Linked DNA regions of Homo sapiens: regions 1, 2, 3, 4 and 5 are each linked to region 6. Evidence: promoter capture Hi-C in 16 types of primary human blood cells and fetal thymus (Javierre and others, 2016). All regions are on one chromosome and are shown on one strand. The core of a region is centred on a gene start or on the middle of the fragment in contact, and the rest is flanking DNA. Distances in the headings are between cores, read along the strand shown.

What was found. Contacts are between HindIII fragments. The CHiCAGO score rates a contact against its expected background, and 5 or more counts as called.
Region 1: a fragment that was not itself captured here is called in contact with the fragment with the promoter of PMPCB in region 6 in 6 of 17 cell types (total B cells, naive CD8 T cells, M0 macrophages and 3 more); the score reaches 8.8 in total B cells.
Region 2: a contact is called between a fragment that was not itself captured here and the fragment with the promoter of PMPCB in region 6, in 3 of 17 cell types (naive CD8 T cells, total CD4 T cells and non-activated CD4 T cells). The highest score is 7.7, in naive CD8 T cells.
Region 3: a fragment that was not itself captured here is called in contact with the fragment with the promoter of PMPCB in region 6 in 3 of 17 cell types (naive CD8 T cells, naive CD4 T cells and non-activated CD4 T cells); the score reaches 9.1 in naive CD8 T cells.
Region 4: a fragment that was not itself captured here is called in contact with the fragment with the promoter of PMPCB in region 6 in 1 of 17 cell types (total B cells); the score reaches 5.1 in total B cells.
Region 5: a contact is called between a fragment that was not itself captured here and the fragment with the promoter of PMPCB in region 6, in 2 of 17 cell types (total CD8 T cells and naive CD8 T cells). The highest score is 6.1, in total CD8 T cells.

The regions. Positions count from the first base shown.
Region 1 is chr7:104,887,072-104,891,145 of GRCh38, forward strand. The region is part of intron 2 of LHFPL3 (LHFPL tetraspan subfamily member 3); the gene reads left to right. Among named protein-coding and RNA genes, the nearest start is that of LHFPL3-AS2, 38 kb to the right of the region's middle. The HindIII fragment of the contact is 1,120 bases long and covers 716-1,835 here.
Region 2 is chr7:104,928,448-104,932,728 of GRCh38, forward strand. No RefSeq gene overlaps it. Among named protein-coding and RNA genes, the nearest start is that of LHFPL3-AS2, 3.9 kb to the left of the region's middle. The HindIII fragment of the contact is 6,184 bases long and covers 1-4,281 here.
Region 3 is chr7:104,945,884-104,950,096 of GRCh38, forward strand. The region is part of intron 1 of LOC101927902 (a long non-coding RNA gene); the gene reads left to right. Among named protein-coding and RNA genes, the nearest start is that of LHFPL3-AS2, 21 kb to the left of the region's middle. The HindIII fragment of the contact is 4,307 bases long and covers 799-4,213 here.
Region 4 is chr7:104,859,746-104,864,233 of GRCh38, forward strand. The region is part of intron 2 of LHFPL3 (LHFPL tetraspan subfamily member 3); the gene reads left to right. Among named protein-coding and RNA genes, the nearest start is that of LHFPL3-AS1, 58 kb to the left of the region's middle. The HindIII fragment of the contact is 1,015 bases long and covers 1,076-2,090 here.
Region 5 is chr7:104,908,845-104,912,762 of GRCh38, forward strand. It overlaps LHFPL3-AS2 (LHFPL3 antisense RNA 2), which reads right to left. Exons shown (of 4, transcript NR_027374.1): 3 at 3,072-3,232. It also overlaps the pseudogene RN7SL8P. Among named protein-coding and RNA genes, the nearest start is that of LHFPL3-AS2, 16 kb to the right of the region's middle. RefSeq lists a silencer at 1,335-1,491. The HindIII fragment of the contact is 7,345 bases long and covers 1-3,918 here.
Region 6 is chr7:103,294,590-103,299,012 of GRCh38, forward strand. PMPCB (peptidase, mitochondrial processing subunit beta) reads left to right here and starts at 2,846. Exons shown (of 13, transcript NM_004279.3): 1 at 2,846-2,969; 2 at 3,979-4,119. The coding sequence starts at 2,871. RefSeq lists enhancers at 2,641-2,700, 2,801-3,100. The HindIII fragment of the contact is 11,349 bases long and covers 1-4,423 here.

The DNA of each region.
Region 1 (4,074 bases), core at 26-2,525, 1.6 Mb after region 6:
CTTTCATGCCAAAACTTGTTATACTGGCAGCCATTCCCCTATAAATGTTTCCCACAAAGATGGGCACTGACTTCCACCAGGGGTACATCAGCATTAGCTCCACGGTGAATAACAGAAGGCTAAATGATTCCCTTGTAGGAAATAACTGAAGGGAAGGAAAGATGACTGTCTAACTTACTGTATAAGAATATTACCCTAGCTTGGGTTCCCCCATAGATAGATGCTGACACGGGATTTAAGTGCAGGTCATTTTTGTACGTAGAGATCCCAGAAGACACTGGTAGGGGATGAAAAAGTGAGATGGGGAGAGGAAGGTGGTCAATAAAGGGAGTATTAGCAAACAAGTCATTACTTGGGTAACTGGAGTGCAATCCCACTGGGGATTTCTGAGATTCCAGGGGCAAGGGAAGTGATATTTATAAATCAATTCTCATCAGTCATTGACTGAGGACTGCTAGAGGTAAGGGATGGTGATTCCCTGGCATTTCCAGTCTGTCCCATGGGTAAGCAGAGAGGACCCTGCTGGTCAGAGAATGTCCTCCAGCAAAAAGACGCAGAGGCTGGCAGTTAAACACTGGCCCAGTGGGCACTGAAATGGTAAAGCCTAAGGGGAAAGTGGCAGAGAAACGACAGCCTCTACTACAAGTACTGGCTTCTGCAAAGAGCATTTTCTAAGAATGGACGTTCTCTTATGAAGTCATCTTTATATGAACAAAGCTTAAAGGAAGAATGCTGGAAAGAGTTCAATGAGAGCTGAAATCCTGGAAATATGTTTAGAAGCAGGTCATCTTGGTTCAGATTGAGTGGACTAGATCTACTGGTAGGACTTTCAGAGTTGTTTGGGGGTTTTATTTGTGACAACTCTCAACAGCTTGAGAGTCAGAACAAGTTACAAAGAGAAGCAGATCTTGTATACCTGACTGGAGAAAGCAGCTCTGCCTTTCATTCTGGCAGGTGGCACTTCATCTGCTGTGGGCTGATCCTTCACAGAGCCACTGTGTCTACTCTTTCCAAAATCAAGAACCTCACATACATGTACACATACATACATGCTCACTCAGGGGACCACAATATTAGAGACACTGCATTAATTTGTTTTCATGTTTGGACATATTTTTAAGACATCTTACCCCTTCAAACAATAAACATTCTAATTATGTAAATATGTATCATAGAGGCCAGGCATGGTGGCTCACACTTGTAATCCCAGTGCTTTGGGAGGCTGAGGCAGGAGGATCACTTGAGTCCAGGAGTTTGGAAACCAGCCTGGACAATATAGCAAGACCCAATCTCTACAAAAAAAATTTAAATTGCCAGGTGTTGTGGCACATGCCTGTAGCTCCAGCTAACCAGGAGACTGAGGCAGGAGGGTCTCTTGGACCCAGGAGTTGGAGGTTGCACTGAGCTATGATCATGCCACTGCACTCCTGCCAGGGTGACAGAGATCCTGTCTTTTAAAAAGAGATATATAATACAGATATACACACATTCCACAGCAAAGAGATCTTGAAGTCCTACTATGTGCCAGGCATTCTGCTAGGTCATGGGGATTCAGAGATGTAAGGCCTGGTTCTTGTCCTTGAGGCATGCACAATGTCAGTGAGGAAGATTTCCTTGTAAGTAGATACGTTATACCTCTACAATGGAGTCACTGTCACATGTGTCAACAATGCATGGACAATCATGTGTAGGCTGTAGAAGGCAGAAATCTTAAGCCACTTGAATATTTGGGATGAGTCTAAGTTTTCCAGGCGAAGGAAGAGGGGAGATTTCTGTCCAAATTGTTTCCGTTAATGAATCCACTGAAAATCCCCATACTGACTTTTGAAAAGTCAAGCTTACATCAGAAAGTCAGCAGTTAGAAAGATGGAAGGAAAAGAAGTTACATGATAGCTTCACGTCAAGGAGAGATGAGTTGAATCTGACCAAAGACAGAAAGAGAAGAAAAAAAAGAAGTAAAGGTATACCTATTATTTAAACTCACAAAGGCATTGTTTAAAATCAAAATTGGGAGAGAAAGGAGGTGAGAAGGAACGGAGGTGAATCTTCACTTTTCTAGAGAAGACTCAACATATAGTGTCTAAAATTGATAAATGCATAATTAAACAAATGTTAACATAGTATTTAGACTACTGAAGTAACTACTGCAATAAAACTGGAAACTATTAAAACAGCTTGTCTCCAGGGAGTAAGACCGGGTATGAGAAGGGATGAAGTGGGGTGACTCTTCATTATAAGATCATTTGTATGGTCTGACTTTTTAAAAATCAAGTATTGGCTTTTCCAGGCCGAGCGTGGTGGCTCACGCCTGTACTCCCAGCACTTTGGGAGGCCGAGGCAGGTGGATCACTTGAGGTCAGGAGTTCAAAACCAGCCTGGCCAACAAGGTGAAACCCCAGCTCTACTAAAAATACAAAAATTAGCCAGGTGTGGTGTCACAAGCCTGTAGTCCTGGCTACTCAAGAGGCTGAAGTGGGAGAATCGCTTGAACCTGGGAGGCAGAGGTTGCAGTGAGCCAAGATGACACCACTGCACTCCAGCCTGGGTGACAGAGCAAGACTCTGTCTCAGAAACAAAAACAAGGAAAGTATTGGCTTTTCCAAAGAGCATTTTCTAAGAATGGATATTCTCCCATAAAGTCATCTTTATATGAACAAAGTTTAACAGGAGAACTCTGGAAAGATTTCAACGAGAACTGAAATCTTGGAAATATGAAGAATTTCAGTGGATAAATTAATGGAAACATTTAAAATCAATGTACATATTACCTTGATGAAGTAGAAATTTTCAAGTTCAAGCTGCTACACTCTGCCTGCTATATTATACCATCTCAAAATTATACATGTTCAATCAGTTTTTTTAATTAAAGAGCAGTCCTAATTATATTTCCTAGAGATCTTTCCTTCTCTCCTCTTCTCATTCGCTTCTTAGGATAAGGAAACATCTGGCAGGCTTGGTGGCTTGTGCCAGTAATCCCAGAAGTTTGTGAGATCGAGGCAGGAGGATTACTTGAGGCCAGGAGTTTGAGACCAGCCTGGCTACATAGTGAGACCCTCTTCCCTTCAAAAAATAAAAATAACAAATTAGCCAGGCTTCATGGCACTCACTTATAGTCTAGCTACTCAAGAGCCTGAGTTGGGAGGGTCCCTTGAGCCCAGGATTTTAAGGCTGCAGTGAACTATGATTGTGCCACTTCACTCACCTGGTCAACAAAGTGAAATCCTGTCTCTAAAAAAACAAGTGGTTGGGAGATTCTCCTGCTCTATACCTGCAGAGCAGACAGGAGGCCTTACTGGTCCTGTGCATCTTAATCTTTGCTCCATCCCCTTCCTCCCCCGCATTACAACGCCCCGTGGAGCTCAGGGGAAAATACCCAGTTGCTGCCTTGAGCAGTAGACTTGCCTCAGAGCTCCTAGCTTACTGTTTACATGCAGGGTCTGGAACTAAGCAGCTAAATTGGCTGTGTGTTTGTCCCTTTAGAACTGATTGTCAGTCCTTCCCCCTCAGTCCGTTCAGTGGATTCTGAACACTGGCCGGGTGAAGGTCTCATTGCCCAGAGCTGAGATCAACCGCTAACAAGAAGAAAACTATTTCAGGCCAGAGGCCATGGGAGAAATGGCGGGGAAGCCAGGCTCTTCTGTGGATGACACGCCAGGCTCAGGTGGCCAGTGAGGACCATCTTTGTGATTTGTTCATTCATTTTTTTACCTGAAATGGAGACTGATGTGGCTCCCGGGAGGGGGCTATGAAGAGGACAAGGCCTGTGAGGTGCTGCCAATACTTTCTTGCCTCACAGGCTGATGAGAATAGACAGAACCACAGCACCATGAAGCCCACCAGCAGCGCCCCAGCTCCCCAGCCTCGTGCCTGCAACAGAGTAGGTGGTCACTGAAGGTTTCATTTCTTTTTAATCTCCCATAGTAGAGAATTTCTGTTTCTACCATTATGACACAACTGTTGCAGCTATGAGGACAAATCTTTTGAGCCTTTCTGCAGATCTGGGTGCCTTACCCCCAACTTTCATATCAGAGACATCTAGTTGCCAAATTAAGGGTCTGTTTTGAATGGTTTCTT
Region 2 (4,281 bases), core at 640-3,139, 1.6 Mb after region 6:
AAAAAAAGAAGAAGAAGAAGAAGAAATTTGGACACAAACACACATATGGGGGAAGGTGATGTGAAGACACAGGGAGAAAACAGCCAAGGAGGGAGGCCTACAAGCCAAGGAGGGAGGCCTGGAACGGATCCTTCCTCATAGATCTCAGAAGAAACCAACCCTGCTGACACCTTGATCTTAAACTTCTAGCCTCCGCAACAGTGAGAAAATAAATTTCTGTTGTTTAAGCCACCCAGTCGGTGGTTCTTTGTTAAGGCAGCCCAAGTGACTTACTCAGTTCGGCTGCTATAACCAAATTTCTTAGATTGGGCAATTTATAAACAACAGAAAGTTATTTTTCACAGTTCTGGAGCCGGAAAGTCCAAGATCAAGGCTCCAGCAAAGTTGATGTCTGGTGAGGGCTGCTGTCTGCTTCACCGATGGCGCCTTGTGTCACTTCGTCACATGGTGGAAGGGTCAGAAGGGCACTCCCCCCAACTTCTTTTATAAATGGATTAATGGCATTCCTGTGGGCAGATCCCTCATGACTTAATCACTTCCCAGAAGGCCCACCTGGTAATACTATCACATCGGGTATTAGCTTTCAACATATTGGAACATATTGAAATTTTAGGGAGATACCAACATTCAGATCAGAGCACCTAGCAAACTTATACAGAGTTCCTTTTGATTTGCCATGCAAGTGCAGGGGTGTTTTTCCATACCCCCAACCAGTGATGTCTCCTTGAAACTCCACTCTGGTAACTTGCAGATTCCACATTGGGTGGAGCATGACAGGAAGGTCCACCCAACTCTGGGCCTTGAGAACAGAGCTTTGCTTGTCTGAAAGCAGTTGCCCTCTGGCTGGTGGTGCACATGTGTTTCTGGGCTCCAGAGTACTGCACATCTGAACAGTTGGAATCCAAGTCTGACCCATGTTGGTCCTGTACTTTTCCTAAGTGCTTGCTTGTTTTTCTTTCTTTAAGGTTAAGAATGAAGGCCCGGCGCAGTGGCTCACACCAAAAATCCCAGCACTTTGGGAGGCCAAGGCAGGTGGATCACATGAGGTCAGGAGTTCAAGACCATCCTGGCCAACATGGTGAAACTCTGTCTCTACTAAAAATACAAAAATTAGCTGGGCATGGTGATGTGCACCTGTAATCCAAGCTACTCGGGAGGCTGAGGCAGAAGAATCGCTTGAACCTGGGTGGCAGAGGTTGCAGTAAGCAGAGATCGCACCATTGCACTTCAGCCTGGGCAACAGAGTGAGACTGTCTCAAGAATAAATTAAATAAATAAATAAGAATGGAGGTATATGTGTGCGTGTTGGGGAAGAGGGAATCTAGCTATAAAAGCCCTATAGCTAATCTTTATACTAATTAACCATTAATATTTACTAATACTTAGAACTACAGTTACTATTTACATAGTATACAGCCATAGCTTATTATTAAAATATTTAAATAATTTCATAGTTGATTATAAATAGCATCACCCCTCTTCCTCACCCAATGCCTCTCTGGAAACTCCCCACAGCCCAGCAGCTAATCGGTTAATGCTGGCACTGAAGTGTTCTCCAGAACCTGCTCCAGCACAATCTTGACCTCCAATCTACAAAGAAGGAGCTTCCTCTGCCCTTACTGGTTGTTACATGTTTTTCAAGTTCATCCCTGCTTGGTATGTTCCCAGCACTGCCCTCTCAATTCTTTATGCTACATTATCTCACAGCAACCTGGAAACATACACTATGAGTATTTCCTTTTGCCTATAAAGAAACTGTGGCTCAGAGCAGCTAGAAGGAGGCAGAGTTCTTAATCACCACTGCTCCCTATTTTCCAGCTGTGCCCCCTGAAATTGGTATGTGAGAATTCTTTTATTCTCAGAAGAGCAGCCAAGAAGAGTTGAGAGGCTACAGCCCCAGAGTGCTGGGAAGGCTGGGTGTTCTCAGGCCTCTCCTTTTCTCCAGGTAAGATCTCCCCACACTGGCTGAGTGCAGTGGCTCACACCTGTAATCCCAGCACGTTGGGAGGCCAAGGCGGGTGGATCACTTGAGGCCAGGAGTTCAAGACCAGCCTGGCCAACATGGTGAAACCCTGTCTCTACTAAAAATACAAAAATTAGCAAGACTTGGTGGCACATGCCTGTAATCCCAGCTACTAGGGAGGCTGAGGCAGGAGGATCACTTGAACCCAGGAGACGGAGGTTGCAGTGAGCAGAGATTGCACTACTGTACTCCAACCTGGGCAACAGAGTGAGGCTTTGTCTCAAAAAAAAGCTCTCCCCATACTGAGAGAGGTCCCAGGTCACAGTAAAAACAAACGACAAAGAGTCCTGCAGGCAAACAGTTTTCTTTTCTTTTCTTTTTTTTTTTTTTGAGACAGAGTCTCACTCTATCACCGAGGCTGGAGTGCAATGGCACAATCTCCGCCCACTGCAACCTACACTTCCCAGGTTCAAGCGATTTTCCTGCCTCAGCCTCCTGAGTAGCTGGAATTACAGGTGCACACCACCACACTCAGCTAATTTTTGTATTTTTAGTAGAGATGGGGTTTCACCATGTTGGTCAGGCTGGTCTCGAACTCCTGACCTTGTAATCTGCCCACCTCAGCCTCCCAAGGCAAACAGTTTTCTAAAGCTGCACAATGGTTCTGAGCTCCTCACTGCAGGAATTTTGGGAACTCAAGAGGACCCCTCACTGGCATCGTTGTACCCCTCGGAGGGCACAGGACTGCTGAGAAGGGGGGCATGACCCACTTCAACCTTTGAAAGCCATGGCAAAAGTCTGCATCGCTGTCTGCTGGAACACCTGGACACTCTCCTGGCTCCCACCCAGGCCCTGATTGTTTTGTTGTAGGAACCCTACAGGCAAGTCCCTAACAATGCTCTGCCAACTTAGTGGACACTCGCCCAGACTGTGCGTGCAGGGAGGCCCACCTCCTTTCACCCTTGCCCTGCCTCCTGATTTCCTGGTGACCTTCTAACTCTGCTTGGGCCTTTCCCATGGCACTTAACCCCTGTGTGACCTGAAGACTCTATAACCCTAAAAACCAGTCCTGCTCACCAGCTGGCCTGGGTACAATAGCACTTGGAAAGCAAAGTCATGGGACTGAAACCAGAAGAAAACCTATTCATTAGAGGAGCAGCTGGCAGCTGGAAAACAGAAGGAGAGAGAAAGGAAGGCCAGTTCCTACCTCCTGTAGGACCGATTAACCAGGGATTTCAGAGCCAGTCACTCAGCCTGCCTAAGGCCCCCTAGGCCCCTCTCCTAATGAAAGCAGTGATGCTTATCATATCTCCCACATCCTTCCCAGCAGGGCTCAGAAGGGCAATCCCGCTGACAGGAGCTTTGAGATGGAAAGCAGTGGAGGGAGCGCAGGGGGTAGGGGGTGGGTTGGTGGGGGTTGGTGGGTGGGACCCAGGCTCTGACTTTGACAGTCAAGAGTATTCTTCGTCTAATTCCTCTCTCCAATTAAACATCAAAGAAATATTTCCAAGGGCATATGTTATTATTAAATAATGTTATCCTTTGAAAAAATTTACAAGTAATATATTTTCACTGAAGAAAAAAGTAGAAAATAAAAAGATGACAGAAAAGTCACCTATAATTAGGAGCCACTTTCAACATTTAGAATTCATTTGCTTTTCACACACGAAAAAAACGAGACGATACTGTACGTATGCACAACAAAAGATCATGAAGCCAAGCACAACAGCTCACGCCTGTAGTCCCAGCTACTCAGGAGGCTGAGGTGGGAGGATCACTTGAGCCCAGGAGTTTGATGTTACAGTGAGCTATGATTGTGTCACTGCACTCCAGCCTGGGTGACAGAGTTAGACCCTGTCTCTAAAAACAAAACAACAGTAGATCATGAACATCGTTCCATGTCAATAAATCCACTTCCTCCACACCCTTCTTAATGGTTGCAGTATATTTCATCGCGTATTTAAAAGGTGATGGAGTCAGTCAGTCCCCTACTGTTATGTGTTTAGATTCTTTGTGAGGGAATTTAAATTCTTTTATGAAGGGACAGACTGAGACTAGAGGAGATGATATCCCAGCCTGTTCAATAGTTCTCTCCCCATCATCCGCACCCACTCACCCACCATCTCACTCACCCACCAGCTCACTCCAACCTGGCTACTCTGCATTTCCATCTATTATGTTCCCTTAGACTCAACCTCAGGAAGTTTTCAGATGTGTTCCTGTGTCAGCCCTGTCCATAAACGTGTTATAGGGACCACAACATCATCTCTTATTTGGGCTTCCCCCTTTCAGCCCTCAGAGACAACAACTACAGCTGA
Region 3 (4,213 bases), core at 1,702-4,201, 1.7 Mb after region 6:
TTTTGTTAGGATTAAATGAGTTAATAGTTTGGAGATTTGAGAGACTATAATAGAGGAAACCTCTCTTCCCTTCCCAAGTTCTGAGTAATTAAGAGCTGGGCAAGGAGAAATAAAAACAAATGGGATTGGCCAGGAGCAGTGGCTCTCTCCTGTAATCCCAGCACTTTAGGAGGCCAAGGCAAGCAGATCACTTGAGGTCAGGAATTCAAGACCAGCCTGGCCAACATGGAGAAACCCTGTCTCTACTGAAAATACAAAAATTATCTGGGTGTGGTAGTACACACCTGTAATCCCAGCTACTCGGAAGGCTGAGGCAGTAGAATCACTTGAACCCAGGAAGTGGAGGTTGCAGTGAGCCGAGATCACCCCACTGCATTCCAGCCTGGGTGACAGAACGAGACTTCATCTCAAAAAAAAAAAAAAAAAAAAAGCAAATGGGATCAAAACATCAACTTTATCACTGATACATTTTATATAGGAGTCCATGGTTTACATTTGTGGGTAAGTGAATGCCAGAATTAGGCAGGGTACCCACGCAGGCTGGGGCATGCCCCCCAGTTGGAAACTGTCCCTGTAAACAGTGGAGCCTGGGAGAGCAGAGCCCAAAGCATGCTCTGGAGGAGGATGGCTGCCAAGAGGACAGAGATGGGCTGAGCTATGCATCTCCAGTTCCTCCCCAGCGTCTCCATTGAGAAGTTGCTCCTCTTCCTGTACCACCCTCTTCACCACCACCACCACCCTCCTGGGCAGGAATGAGTCAAAGAGCAGGGAGACAGGTCAGAAATCTCATGCCAGAGAAGCTTCTTCCACATGGAAGGAAATGTAAGGGATGAGGAAGAATCTTTTTCCCTTCTAATAAATATACGTAAAGCACTTAGTACCTGGCACAATAGTAAATGCTCAATAGAAGTTAGTGATTACAGGCCGAGCGCAGTGGCTCATGCATGCCTGTAATGCCAGCACTTTGGGAGGCCGAGGTGGGAGGATCACCTGAGGTCAGAAGTTTGAGACCAGCCTGACCAACATGGCAAAAACCCATCTCTATTAAAAATACAAAAATTAGCTGGGCATGGTGGTGGCCACTGTAATCCCAGCTTCTCTGGAGGCTGAGGCAGGAGAATCACTTGAACCTGGGGGGTGGAGGTTGCAGTGAGCCAAGATTGTGCCACTGCACTCCAGCCTGGGCAACAGAGACTCCATCTCAAAAAAAAAAAAAAAAGAAAAAAGAAGTTAATGATTACTATTAATACTTGAGCTATAGCTTATTCATCATACCAGAGACTTCTGTACCTCTATTGATGTGACTTCTCTAATCATGTCTGCTCTTATTAGATGTGTGACCTCGGGAATTTTATTGACCCTCTCTAAGCCTCAGTGTTCTCCTCTATACAATGGCTACCATGATGGTACTTATAATTGGGAAGACTACATGATTTAGTGTAAAGGGCTTAGCCTGGATGCCTGGAACCTAGTGAATATTTAATAAATGGTGACTATTGTTTATTATAAAAGAACTTGGGAGTCCAGCACAAAATAAATGCAAAATTTGCAATCATGAAACATGATTGATTTAGAAGAGGCATGTAGGCTGGGCACGGTGGCTCACGCCTGTAATCCCAGCAGTTTGGGAGACCGAGGCGAGCAGATTGCTTGAGGCCAGGAGTTTGAGGCCAGGCTGGCAAACATGATGAAACCCCATCTCTACCAAAAATACAAAAATTAGCTGGGTGTGGTGGTGTGTACCTGTAATCCCAGCTACTCTGGAGGCTGAGGCCTGAGAATCGCTTAAACCCAGGAGGCAGAGGTTGCAGTGAACCGAGATTGTGGCACTGCACTCCAGCCTGGGCGACAGAGCAAGACCCTGTCTCAGAGGCATGTAAAGGAAAGGCCGATTATCAGAATTAGAGCAATTGCTTCCTTTGCAGACACGATCTAGATACCTAGGTTTTATGCCCAATTTTGCCCCTGAGAATGAAGCACCAGGAGTACTGCAAAATCATCTGGGTGTTTTCCCATCACTTTCCATAAAATGAGGAGAAACTCACAGTCTAGTGTTCACCTTGGGAAGATGGTGGTATTTTGGTATTTTTGAAGCTGTGAGGTCTTTGGGAAAGAATATTTAAGTGCTCTTTCATGTGTTGAACAAAAATGGCTTCAGCCAATCACAGAAGCTAAGAGCCACTGTCTGAACTGCAGGAGGATAGATGCTGGATTTATCTCACCCACTGCTTTGTCTTCAGCACCTGGCACAACATGTGGTACATAGTACACATTTATAAAATATTTGTTGAATATGTAAGTGAATGGAGCAGGTGCCTCAACACACAGCAATGGTAAGATGCTGCCTAAGGGGATGTGGTCTCACTTTTTTTGTAGATCTAGGTAGGGCAAATCTATGGAATACGGAACTAGAGGCATTTGTATAATCGTTGACTGGTCTTCTTGGTGGAGGGTTGGAGGTGGACCACAGGTTGCTGAATAAGGAACCCACAGAAATGTTGATTGCTGCTTTTTTTTTTCCCTTCAAAAGCCCCTCGATGCCTGTTATTTTGAATATGGGAGCTTGAGTTATTTATACTCTATTTCTCATGCAAAGTGAGATAAGAAAAAATGAAAAATGTAATACCTTAACGATCAGGGTAAGTTATAGAAATAGCCCACTTTGAGACAGGGATAGATGTAGACCCTGGCAGATTAATCAGATTTCATCCTAAAGTCTCAGACATGCAAGGATGCTATATGCACACTTTATGTAATAGCAAAAGACTAGAAAAAATGCAAATGTCCACCTATAGGGGACGTCGACACAAGTAATATTGTGCAGCTGTAAAAAGGAATGAGAAGTAGTTCTGTGTATTAGTATAACCTATATTAAGTGAAAAAAACAAAGTGCAGAATGGTGCATAGAGTATGCTATCTAAGAAGGAGAAATACAACTACATATATGTATGTGCCTTTTTTAAAAAACTGGAGGCCAGGCATGGTGGCGCACACCTGTAATCCCAGCACTTTGGGAGGCTGAGATGGGTGGATCACCTGAGGTCAGGAGCTCAAGACCAGCCTGGCCAACATGGCAAGACCCCATCTCTACTAAAAATACAAAAATTAGCCATGCTTGGTGGTGGGCACCTGTAATCCCAGCTACTTGGGAGGCTGAGGCACGAGAATCTCTCATACCTGGGAGGCGGAGGTTGCAGTGAGCCGAGATTATGGTGGGTGACACAGTGAGACTCTGTCTCAAAATGTAAATAAATATATATTTAAGAAGTGGAAGCATAAGCCAAACACCAGTAAAAATAGTTATCTAGGAGATAGGGGAAGAGAGTAGAAGGGAGAAAAATGGAAGCTAGGCTTGACTTCCCTGAATGTGCCTCATTTTGTAGGTTTGACATTGGAACCATGGATATGTTTGTTTGTTTGTTTGTTTGTTTGTTTTTTGAGAGTCTTGCTCTGTCGCCCAGGCTGGAGTGCAGTGGTGCAATCTTGGCTCACTGCAACCTCCGCCTCCTGGGTCCAAGCAATTCTCCTGCCTCAGCCTCCCGAGTAGCTGGGACTACAGGCACCCGCCACGACACCCGGCTAATTTTTTGTATTTTTAGTAGAGACGGGGCTTCACTGTGTTAGCAAGGATGGTCTTAATCTCCTGACCTCATGATCCGCCCGACTTGGCCTCCCAAAGTGCTGGGATTACAGGCATGAGCCACTGCACCCACCTGGATATGTTTTACATAATTATAAAACAAAATTTAATAAAGATGGACCAGGCACAGTGGCTCACACCTATAATCTCAATACTTTGGGAGGCCAAGACGGGTGAATCGCTTGAGCCCAGGAGCTCGAGACCAGCCTGGGCAACATGGTGAAACCCCATCTCTATAAAAAATAAAAAGTTTAACTTGGTGTAGTGGCAGGCGCCTGTACTCCCAGCTACTTGGGAAGCTGAAATGAGGCCAGGGGGCAGAGGTTGCAGAGGTGGCTCTATTGCACTCCAGTCTGGGCAACAGAGTGAGACCCTGTCTCAAAAAATAAAAATAAAAATAAAATTTAATAAAGATGGGGGCAAAAAAGAAATTCCTAAAAACTGAATGCAATTGAAACAAATAATTTTAACTGTGTATTGAATTAGTGATTTAATTTTACAGAGATGAATTATTTTAAGTGACTTTAAAATACAGTAAGCGATCTGTACTGTAATATAGCCTAAAGATGAATG
Region 4 (4,488 bases), core at 333-2,832, 1.6 Mb after region 6:
CTTAGGATACTATAATAGTGGATACACATCTGTCAATTTGTATAAATCCATAGAATGTATAATACTAAAAGTGTACTCTAATGTGGACTATAAACTCTGGGTGATAATGATGTGTCAATGTAGGTTTATCAATTGTAACAAATGTATCACTGGTAGGAGATGTTGATAGTGCAGAAAACAGTGCATACCTGGGGACAAGTTGTGTAAGGGAACTCTGTACCTTCTGCTCAATTTTGCTGCAAACCTAAAACTACTCTAAAAGTAACATTTTTTCAGAAGCATAAACTATGATGTGATAAACACCTGCTTACTCACCACTTGGCTTAAGAAATAAAGTACGACCCATAACCCCACTCAGTGTTGGACTGGGACTTAATTTCACTTCTAATCCTTCTACCACCACCCCCCAAATACACACACACATACACCCACCCACACACACACACACACACACACACACACGCATACCTCAAATGGCCTTTTTCTCTCAGGCCTGTTGTGCAAACTTACTCGGCTCTCCCTGCCCAATGCAGGCAGGGTTGATTATGAAATAATCCACTGCTGAATAATGAACCTTGCATGGTGTAGTTACTTCCAGCAATATATTTGTTCTAAATCTGAGCACCAACTAAAGATTTGCTGAGTCTCTGTTTATCAAAGGCTGATCAAGCACTTTACCGCTAATAAAGGGAGCTCATAACATCCTGGGGGTTCACTGTATGTGCAAAGAGCTAAAGACCTCTAGGTTTCCCAGGATAGTCCTCCAAGGGCTGCCCTGGGGATGCCCCTTAAGGATCTACACCCATTCCTTTCATACTACCCCCATCTTGCAGTCTCTTCACAAAAGCATCAGGGTGTTTCAACCAGACACTTTAAGAGGGAGCAGTAACAGCCTATTCTAAGTATCTTAAAAGGCAGCTATATGTAACAGTTTAAAAGTATTTACGTGTATTTCATCTCCTAGAATGTAAAGTGTTTATAGAAGAAATTTCAGACTCTACCAGTGAATGCCTGTCTCTCTTCTGACATCTCTCTTTCTCTTGCCAAGAACTAGAAAAATTAAATAAAATATTTAAGCTTATATCTCCTGTCTCCAGAGTAGACAGGGACACATAGAGTGTGCTAAGAATCCAGCCCCAAGGAGACAGGAGAATTTAATCTTTTTTATTTTAAATTTTTTCTGGGATATGTTTTTATCAATACAACTACCAGAGGCAATGCCATCTCAGACTTTTCTCCGACAATCTTGTGCTTTCCACTGTCGCATGCAATTAGGTGCTATTTATAGCTTTTTTAAAAAAGTAAAACATAAGATAATAAGAGAGAGCCGGTGAATTCTCCATTTTGTTGTTGATAAAGGTTTCTTTCAATATTATTTAAGCCAGATATTTTTCATCTATATTAGTTGTATTAGATTGTGTGTTAGTGTGGGGAAAAGGAGAAGAAAGGGAGTGATTAAAGACAGTTTCAAAAACATTTTGCCCCCCTAAGAGGACATAAGACAGAGATAAAGGGCACAAGGCAGGTCTGGGTTTGAGGCTTAGCTCTTTGGCTTACAGTGTATATGACCTTGGGAAGTACATTTAACTATTTTTTCTCATATATAAAATGAGCAATAATGTTTACCTCAGGGAGTTTTTGTGAGGATTGTGCCTGCATCAGTCAGATACCAGCAGGAGACAGATGGCACCTTCAAACAGGGTAATTTAGGATAGTTGGGAGAAGCAGCTATTTCCACAGCTATGGAGAGGACTTGGGAGAACCTTGGAGGATGACAGGGCCTCCCGGGTTAGCAACAGAGAGAGCTGTTATCTAATGCTGGAGAGAAGTGTAGCTGAAGCTGTCTGTACCTGTGGCTAGAGGAGGAGCCTCCTGGCAGAAGTGGTGGCCTTCTCTAAAAAAACGCAGCCACCCAACCTGGGTGAAAGTGATTCTTCTCCTAGAAAGTGATTCTAGGAGAAACTAATGGTCAAGCACCGAGCTTCCTGGTGGTCTAACATGGTCAAACGCACACTTGGAGAACCTGGGGAAGAGGGGAGAGATGCCTTCCCTTTTAGAAGATCTTCCCTAAAAAGCATTTCTGTCAGGCAAGCTTTGGATTGGCAGAGACATCCAGAGGTTATTCTCTCCAACAAGACCTGGAATGAGTGCTGCTGTCCACGCTGCTGATGGCAGGAATCCACAGGCTTTGGTGAACAGGCTGGCTCGTGGTAGGGCTGGGCTGCCTGTTTATTATAAAAGCACTGCAGCTTCTCATTCCTGGAGGCAGCAGGTTAGAGCTCACTCTGGCAAGCGATGCTGCCGAGTATCTCTTACACCATCTTCCAGCAATTTGTTTGCAACTATCAAGGGGTAAAAGGAAATCACCTGACATGGAGATTAAAAAAAAATACCCTCCAAATGCCACCTTCTTTGAGTTTAAGCCTCAAATACAACTTCCCCAAAATGCCATAGTCTGCCACCCAGAAAAATCAGACCCCCACCTTTTGCTGGAAGTTACAGACCAAGGCTAGTTAGAATCCCCTATGCCCTGAATTGTAATGCAGATGAAATGGGGTGAAAATGAACTTCAGGAGTGGACTTGAAAAGAACTAATCTTAGGAGCTACTACATATTGCCACCTCCAGGCACCAGGCACTTTAAAACATTACTCTAATTTTCTACTTGCCTTCTGGGTAGGCAGTGTTATCTCCTTTGTATTTTTCAGATATGAAAATGAGGTTCTGAGATGATAAGTGCTAGCCCAGGGATGCTCTGATAGAGCTGCATTTGAATTCAGCTTTCTCTGACCTCAAGCAGCACATCCTCAAGGCAAAGGAAGTCTTAATGCTTCCTTCTGCTTTGGAGAAGGGTAGATCTGGGCCAACCTGTGTATAAGCCGCTGGTCCCGCAGTGCCCAAACCCCTGACTGGGTACCAGATCCAGCTACCCCTCACCCCTGCAAAGCTCAAAGCTAGACACAGACCTGGACCTGCTGAACCCTGGGGCCAGCTTTCCAAGGAGCTTTATCCACACCTCTCCTTGGCCCTCACCACAACCTGGGAAGTAAGCAGAGCCTGATAAGTAACATTCATTCCACGGGAGAGTCAAAGAGGTAAACCTGGGATCCCCTAGCTGCCGAGTCGGAGCTGGAAGAAGAGCTCAGCTGCTTGGGCTGCTCCGCCTGGTGGTCTGATACAGTAACACGACAGTATGTGTAGAAAGATGTTGTATAACTGAGAAACCGAGTGTCTGTACACCACCTTATGCTATCTCAGATGTGGACGGCAGAGCCCAGTTACACAGAGCTGGAGTGATCCTGTGTTAATTGCCCTTCATATTTAGCTTAATGAGCTTTTCCTAATTAGTCATACAGCCCTAACCTGCACCCCAAAAAGATAATAAAAATAGCAGTGGCTTTGTGGTATTGATTCCAGATCTTATTTTTTGTTGTTTTCCTTGATCTCCATTTGACTTATCTCTTTCATCTCAAAATCTTATAAAGTGAATGATGCAAAAATGATGGGTAGGGGGTTGACCTCCTACTGGAGACTCACTATTCCTATGAGTGTGTTGAATTTCATTCTGGCCAAACAAAATGGACTCTCCTGTATCCATTTTTACAGAGCATTTGCTGACAAGTATAGTCACTAACCACTTACAAATAGCAGCACAGTTTAAGCCTCTGGGTTTTTTTCCCATGTCATTTGTCAAAGACTAACCAAAATATAAGTGCTGTGTTCCAGGGGTCTTATCTCTTCACTTGGGATCTGCATAGCAAAAACCCTGAGCTGCCTCAGGACAGCTTGTGATCAGGATGTAGGGTGCAGCTGAAAAGGTAATTGACATTTTCCTTTACATTTGCTGAATACCTACACGTGCCAGGCACTCCTCATTGATTATCACTTGGTTCTCACATAACCCTAGAGGATAGAATTTGTTGTCCCCATTGTAGATAGAGGTGAGAACACCGGCTCAGAGACATCAGGTAACTGACTCAGCCTTGCACAGTGAGTCACTGGCTGGGCCAGTATTTGGACCAGATTCTCTGATTACCAAGCCCACTTTCTCTCCTTCTGTGATGCTCCTCACTCCACTTTCACACCTGTGAGAATCAGGCACTGAACTGCATAAACTGGGATCAGTTGTTCACAGTAGGCTAAGGCAGGCAGCCCTGGAGGAAACACCTCCCCTTCTTTACCTGTAAAGTGGGGGTAATAATAGTACCTCCCTCTTGGAATTGGTTTGATGTATACGTCCATCAAATCCCTAGAACACTGAGTTAACAAACTTAACACTGTATAACTGTTAGCTATTATTCTTTACTCCATCAACATTTTGTTAATTTTGGTTGATTGTAAACTTCAACAAATAAACAGAGCCCCTTCTGTGTAAAAGTTCTGTACAAGGGAGCCAAGATGGCCGAATAGGAATAGCTCCAGTCTACAGCTCCCAGCATGAGCAACACAGAAGATGGGTTATTTCTGCATTTCCAACTGAGGTACTGGG
Region 5 (3,918 bases), core at 181-2,680, 1.6 Mb after region 6:
CAATATCCAATTGCCCAATCTCCCCTTTGCAAATTGAAAACAACCAACCATTCCTCGCACATGAGCAACCCTTCATACTGGGTATATGAAGCAACAACACTTCATACTGGGTATATGTTGTCTGAGTGGGTTCCAATCCCTGATCCTTGGTTTACTATATGACTCTGAACAACTCTAAGCCTCAGTGTCCTCACTGGTAAAATAGATATAAATAATATTACTCAGCTCCATAGCATTGTTGTAAGGATATAAATTAAACTATACTGTTGTTGTGTTTGACAGGTAGGGGATATTCAGTGAATGTTCATTCCTTCCCCTCCTACTATATGCAAGACACTGAAGGAAGAAAAGAAACATAAAAAAAAGTCTCTGCTCTGAAGATCCTGAAGACAATTAGAGTGACATTTATAAGCAGGGATTGAAAATTCAAATGCGTACAAGGGCCAATAAATTCACAAAGCAAGCTCAGCTGGGGACATAATAGGGCGTAGTAGGAACTGGCCTGGCACAGTGGCCTCTAATCCCAGTACTTTGGGAGGCTGAGGCAGATGGATCACTTGAGTCCAGGAGTATGTGACCAGCCTAGGCAATATAGTGAGATCCCTTCTCTGAAAATAAAAAAAAAAAACAACAATAATTTTTTAAATAAAATAAAATAAATTTTTAAAAGGAAGTAGTGGGAACTGTGGAGCACTGAAGAGCCTAGGTCCCGTCTAAAGGGAATAAGTAGTCAACGCTCAGCTCTAATGATTCAAGAAATATGTATTGAGTTCCTACTATGTGCCAAGAACTGTTCTAAACTCTGAGAATATAGTGGTGAATCACACAAAACCCTGCTTTCCTTTCATAGGTCTTATGTTCTAGTAGGGGAAGACAGACAATAGACTGGAAAATGTCAGCTAATAATAGATGCCCTAAAGAGAATTAAAACAGGGTGATTGACAGAGAAATGGAGAGAGGAGTCAGGTAAGGCCTCCATGAAAAGGTGGCATTTAGAGTGAGACCTGAACAAACGTTTAAAAGCCACGTGTGAAAAAAGCAGAAGGCATGCCAGACCAGGAACGGCAAGGTGGCAGAGTGGGGAGCCACGTGGGCTAAGCTAGGACCCAGCTCTGGGCTTTGTAGGCCAGGATAGTTTGTACATTTTAAGTGTGAGAAAAAGCCACTGGAGGATCTTAAGCAGAAGAGTGATATAAACTATTTCACATTTCTAAAAGATTACTTTTGGTTTCGGCATCTAGCAGTATAAACTAGATACTCTAAAAAGCCTTTCTTTTTTTTTTTTTTTTTTTTTTTTTTTTAAGACGGAGTCTGGCTCTGTCACCCAGGTTGGAGTGCAGTGGGGCGATCTTGGCTAACTGCAACCTCCGCACCACCATGCCCAGCTAATTTTTGTATTTTTAGTAGAGACGGGGTTTCACCATGTTGGCCAGGCTAGTCTTGAACTCCTGACCTCATTATCCACCCACCTTGGCCTCCCATAGTGCTGGGATTACAGGCGTGAGCCATTGAGCCCAGCCTCTAAAAAGCCTTTCTTATGCCATACTATTAAATCTTAGATAAATTACAATAAGTTTATTTTTAACACACAGCTTAGATTATAAGAAAATAAGGGAAATTCCAAAAACATTTCAAAAAAGAAGTGGAGTGAGCTGAAAACTAAGTGTGAAATGTAAGCAAAGGCAAAAACTGGGCTTGCCTGAAGGTAAATCTGTATAACAAAGTAGGGAATGGAAGATTAAGCGTTGGGCCACTGGAAGCAGGTGAGTTAAATTTGACATTCACATCCAAAAGCAGGATGCTTGAAGATGGCTACATCCTAGGCAAGAGTGGTCTAGGAAAAATCCTCATGCTAGCGAAAGAAATCTATCAAGAACACCATCTCCACACTGGCTCTAGATGGAAAAAAAAAATAATAATGACCCCTTGAAATTTATCATATGCCTGCCCCCGTCAAGTATGGAATTCAGTCTTACACTCTCCATATGATCAAAGAAACCCCAACCAAGAAATTAAAGAGCTTTTTAGGGCCCCTTGTACCAGGCAGATACAAGCATTTGTTGTCTAGAGGAAAGCATCTCTCGCATAGCTCTCACCAATTAAGCTCAACAAAGTATGCAATTGCAATTTTAAAATTACTAAATATGGCTGGGCGCGGTGGCTCACGCCTATAATCCCAGCACTTTGGGAGGCCGAGGCAGGCGGATCACGAGGTCAGGAGATCGAGACCATCCTGGCGAACACGGTGAAACCCCGTCTCTACTAAAAATACAAAAAGAAAAAAATTAGCCGGGCGTGGTGGCGGGTGCCTGTAGTCCCAGCTACTCGGGAGGCTGAGGCAGGAGAATGGCGTGAACCCGGGGGGCGGAGCTTGCAGTGAGCCGAGATCGCGCCACTGCACTCCGGCCTGGGAGACAGCGAGACTCCGTCTCAAAAATAAAAATAAAAATTACTAAATATACAAATAAACTGTAAGCGATAATCAGCAGATATAACTAACAGCCGACTTATCACCCTACAGATTTTAGATAGTGGAATTACCAGATACACAATATAAAATAATCATGTTTTACATGTTAAGGAAATAAAGACAGCGTCTAAAACAATGAATACAATAAAGAGTACATTACATATAATCAGATAGATTAGAAGGAAATTTTTTAAGTCTTAGAAATTAAAACTATAATCACTGAAATTTAAAGTACAATGTGTAAATTACAAACAGGTATAACTGAAGAGAGGAGCTGTGAACTAGTAGACAGATCTAAAGAAATTACACAGAATACAATACAAAAAGCCAAGGGGTTGGTAAATGACAAAGAGGTTAAACAACAGAGAAGACACAGACATCTAACCAGATTTCCAACAGGAGAAATAGAGAGAATAAGGGAAAGGCAATATTTGAATAGAAAATGTCTGAAAATTTTTCAAAAATGATAAAGATATGAATCCACACATATAGGAAGCACAATAGATATCAAGCAAGATAAATATAAAGGAAGACATGACAGTAAAAATACAGGGAAAAACAGAGGAACTACCATAACAAGAACCAAAGAGAAATGGCATACCTCAGGGTGCGTGCCTGTGGTCCTGGCTACTTGGAGGCTGAGGCAGGAGGATGGCTTGAGCTCAGGAGCTCTGGGCTGCAGTGCACTGTGCCCATCAGGTGTCCGTGCTAAATTCAGCATCAAGAGGGTGACCTCCCTGGAGCGGGGAACCGCCAGGTTGCCTAAGGAGGGGTGAACCGACCCAGGTCGGAAACGGAGCAGGTCAAAACTCCCGTGCTGATCCTTTGCACCACCTGCAAAGGAATAATTTCTGGGCCAACAATAAATACCAGACACATTAGCATGATATATTTAAACTGCTGAGATAAAATAACTGTCAAAATAGACAGAGCGCACTGGCTCATCTCTCTACTCCCAGAACTTTGGGAGGCCAAGACAGGCAGATCACTTGAGGTCAGGAGTTCAAGGCCAGCCTGGCCAACATGGTGAAACCCCATCTCTACTAAAAATACAAAAATTAGCTTGGCGTGGTGACGTGTGCCTGTAATCTCAGCTACTCCGGAGGCTGAGGCACAGGAATTGCTTGAACCCCGGAGGCGGTTCTAGCCTGGGTGAGAATGAGACTCTGTCCAAAAAAAAAAAAAAAAAAGAGAGGAAAAGAAAAACAACTTGGCATTATCTTCTACAACTGAACATTTGCATGCACTAAATTCATCAGTTTTATTCCTAGGTATATATGCTGGAGAAATTCTTGCACATAAGCACCAAAAACCATGTACAAAAATGGAAAACCTTCGTCTAACAGATTGCTAAAAATACAAGGAAAATGTCCATCAACAAGGATAAATAAACTATTTACAATTTGCAGTATTTTTAATTGACTAATTTAATACCTCTGTAAGCATGG
Region 6 (4,423 bases), core at 1,596-4,095:
CAGATAAAGTCATTCAGCATAAGGAGAGCTGCAGTCCTTGAAAAGATAACATACTGAATGGAATGCCAGAATATGTATTCAAAGAGACTTTCTCTAAAATGAAGGAAGAAGTGAAACTGCAGAATGAAAACATATTATGTTTTTGAAAATTTTGATAAAAATCACAACACAAAAATTACTCAACATTAAGATATAGCCTAGTTAAGTTACTGAACTTCAAGAATAATTTTTTAGGTTTTTAGGCAGATAAAACAGGTCACATTTAAGGGTGGTAAAAAAAGAAAAAATCTGGCTAGCCTCAGACTTCTCCAAAACATTTAACTCAAGAGCATAATGGAGTAATGTTTATAAAATTCTGAGAAAATGAAACTGTGACCCAACAATATTAAATCCAGACAAAAATGTCATTCAAGTATAAAGATAAAAGCAGACATCCTCAAACATGAAAGAATTAAAGGAATATGACATCCATGATTAAAATTTCCAAACAACAAAAATAGCAATGACTCTGCCAGTAAAATCCAGTCAGTGAAGAAATCATTTAAAATAGGCCAGGTGCAGTGGCTCACGCCTGTAATCCCAGCACTTTGGGAGGCTGAGGCGGGAGGATCACTTGAGGTCAGGAGTTCAAGACCAGCCTGGCCAAACTGGTGAAACCCCGTTTCTACTAAAAGTACAAGAAGTAGCCGGGTGTGGTGGTGGGCACCTGTAATCCCAGCTACTTGGGAGGCTGAGGCAAGGGAATTGCTAGAACCCCGGAGGCGGAGGTTGCAGTGAGCTGAGATTGCACCATTGCACTCCAGCCTGGGCAACAAGAGAGAAACTCCGTCTCAAAAAAAAAAAAAAGAAAAAAAGTTATGGATACTGTTGTGGGTGTAGGGCTATTTTGGGAGTAGTCAAATTCTTTGATTTCTTGGCTCTACTCTGGTGCACTTAATTTCTGTAGGCTTTATGTTCTAAGATATTGACTGTAAATAATGACTAATAAATTAATACCATGAAGTATATTAGAATTGAATACAAATTCTTGCTAAAACTTCCTAGGTGCTTCCTGTGATTATACCTACATGTTTTTGTATATATGTATGCATGTTTGTATTTATTTTTGGTTAACACACATTTGTTTTAGAAACATGAGAGAATAACCTTGGTCGTCCTTTATTACATTACATCATGAGTCTTGTGGACTGAACCTGCGAAGCATAGCAGCCGGGTAGGTGGAGGGAGATGAGTCTGGAAAGATAAATGGGAGTCAGATCATGAAGGGCCCCACCTGCCATGCTAAGGACCCTTTACTTTATTGTGACCAAGGGCTCCCTGATGGATTCTTCATAATGGGACTGCCGTAACAGTTTCATTTGTAAAAGATCCTATAGGTAGTAATGTGAAAAAACTGACAATGGGCCTGGAGTAGATTGAAGAGGCAGGAAAGGGGTGTATCAATTGAATGTGGAAGATGGAAAAAGAGAGGAGCTTCTGGGTGGTTTGGAGTTTTGGGCAAATGTAGGTATGATTGGCTGTTTGGCATTGCAAATATGGGAAGAGATTCAGGGGACACAGTGAATTCCCTTTTGGACAAGTTGATATTGAGTTTCCAATGGGGTATTCAAGTGTAGTTTCCTAGTAGTTGATGGTTAAGTGGGCTGGAGCTCAAGAGAAAGGCCTGGGTTGGGCAGACAGGTCTTGAAGTGGAGGGAAAAACCCAGAGGGAGAATGTTCAGTAGAAGAGGCTTAGAGTCCTGGCAAACACCAACTTTTAGGGCAAAATGTAGTGTTTCACAGCACAGTCTTTGGCGTTAACCTATTACTAGCAGGGTAACCTGGGGCAAGTTATTTGACTTCAGTGTCTTAATTGCAAAATAAGCACTATACCATCTACCTGAGTTAGAAAAGCATTTGCAATTTTTAGTTCCTTGAGAGATCTGTGGGCTGGGCGCAGTGGCTCACGCCTGTAATCCTAGCACTTTGGGAGGTGGAGGTGGGTGGATTACCTGAGGTTAGGAGTTCAAAACCAGCCTGACCAATATGGTGAAACCCCATCTCTACTAAAAATACAAAGTAGCCAGGCGTGGTGGCACATGCCTGTAATCCCAGCTACCTGGGAGGCTGAGGCAGGAGAATTGCTTGAACCCAGGAGGCAGAGGTTGCAGTGAGCTGAGATTGCACCACTGCACTCCAGCCTGGGCAACAAGAGTGAAACTCCATCTCAAAAACAAAAACAAAAACAAAAAACAGATCTGTGAATAAAGAGGAGTCCAAGAAGGTGCAGAGGGAACTATGAGGAGGTGGAGCTCTAGAATATATTGAGAAAAGAGAATTTCAAAGAAGCCAACAATGTCAAATCCTCCAACAGGACTGTAACATAAGTCTGTAAAGTGTCCAACTTTTAGCAATTAGTGACCTTACCAAGGGCAATTTCTATGGAATGAGATGAGCCATATTGTAGAGGTTCGAAGAGTGGATAGTGGTCAACACGGATACATCGTTTCCTCCCCTCACGGCATCTGTCTCTCCCACTAGACTTTTCCTTTAAAGGCAGTGACTTATGAATATTATTCCACTGTTTTCAATCAATTCCATCCACCAGTGAGATATATTGCATCAGGTTACCTTTCATTCCACCGCATTTGTGCCTTGCACTTAGTAGGCGATCGATAAAATAACTGATGATAAAGGGGCTTCTGCAGACTCCCCAATTCATTTGGTAAAGACCGCTCAGCATCATGGTCGGGCCCTGATTGCTTTCACAACCGCTTCGAGGAGTGTCATTCCCATCACGGCCACAAGGTGGAGCCCACCTCCCTGCTCTGGGACCTCAGGTCGCGACCCCGGAAGCACATCCTTCATCCTCTACCTTCCTTCTAGCAGAAATGGCGGCTGCGGCGGCTCGAGTGGTGTTGTCATCCGCGGCGCGGCGGCGGCTCTGGGGTTTCAGCGAGAGTCTTCTAATCCGAGGCGCTGCGGGACGGGTGAGCTTCCCTCCAGGCCGGTCCTGTCCTCGAGATCTCGCCAGACCCGGCGCAGCGCACCTGAGAGTCGGCGCCACAGATCCGAACAGTGGGTCGGGCAGGGCCTCCTCGACCCGGACCCGCCGGGCGCCAGGCGGCCTGGGGCTGCTGAACTGGCCGGGGGTGACTGGCTTGTGGCCACCCGCCAGGAGACCTGCTAGTGACGTGTGGGATGACCCTGGTTTTCGGCTCCTCCCGCCAGCTACTGAGGAGTGCATGTTTGACCACTAAAAACGTAGTGCTTGCAAATTGGGGAAAACTAAAAAGTGAAATGGGTACCGCTCCAGAGTTCTATTTTTGCCTAAGACTGAACTTCGTCCTCAGCTGGGCTTCCCGCGAACCTGGACATCAATGAAGTAAAATTTTTTATGTATTTGCATTTTTCTCATGAGAGAGCCTCTGACTTTAAGCAAAGGGATGTGAGACTTTTGTATAAGGGCAAAGAAAAACTGCTGAAAGGCGAATAGTTTCTGGCCGAAAAGCCAGTCATTTGCATTTTGAACATCGACCCATCTTCCTATCCTCTCTCTCTTTTTTTTTTTAACCATTTCCAAACCCTGTTGCTTTTCTTGAACAATGAAAACCCGAGTGTCAGTTTTGTCTTGTGTGTAGGTAGTTTTACATAGTTTCCCTCTCTTTTTTTTTTTCCTGCTTGTTTTCTCCATAATGAATATAAAACATTTCTAGGAGAGGTAGTGAAATAAAGTCAATTTCTCTCTGGGTAATGATAATAATTGCTCATCTTCCCTGAGGGAAGGGCATGTTTATAAACACGTTGCTGGCTTTAGGACAGTGGCTGGTGACAGATGTTTCTAGGCCAGGCAGAGATCTCAGTGGAACCAAAATTCAAGAAGAAAGATTCTTTTATAGAGACAGCCTATTTAAAATAGATTTGGTTTTAAAAGCAACATTTAATATCAGATTAGTAATGTGTTTTGCTTTGTCTCTTCCACTTCCTACCCCCAACCAGTCATTATATTTTGGAGAGAACAGATTAAGAAGTACACAGGCTGCTACCCAAGTTGTTCTGAATGTTCCTGAAACAAGAGTAACATGTTTAGAAAGTGGACTCAGAGTAGCTTCGGAAGACTCTGGGCTCTCAACATGCACAGTAAGTGACTCAGGCAACCTTCTCTAAGTGACCCTTCATTTAGCGTAGCAAATTGTTGATTTTAATCTTTAGCTTTTTCGTTGGCTGGTGGTTCAAAAAGGGTGACAGTTATTTTGCCTTGACAGATTTCCATGAGTTGTGAACCTTTTCTTCCAGTGGTACTTAGTTACAGGGTGCATATGTATCCTGTTGCATTGTCTGCATCTTGTTCTTGTAGCTTATTATTGATTATTTATTTTCAGTAGTATTGATAATAATGAAAGAAATATGTTTGCAGGGCTACTCTGCCAAGTGTTTTTACTGA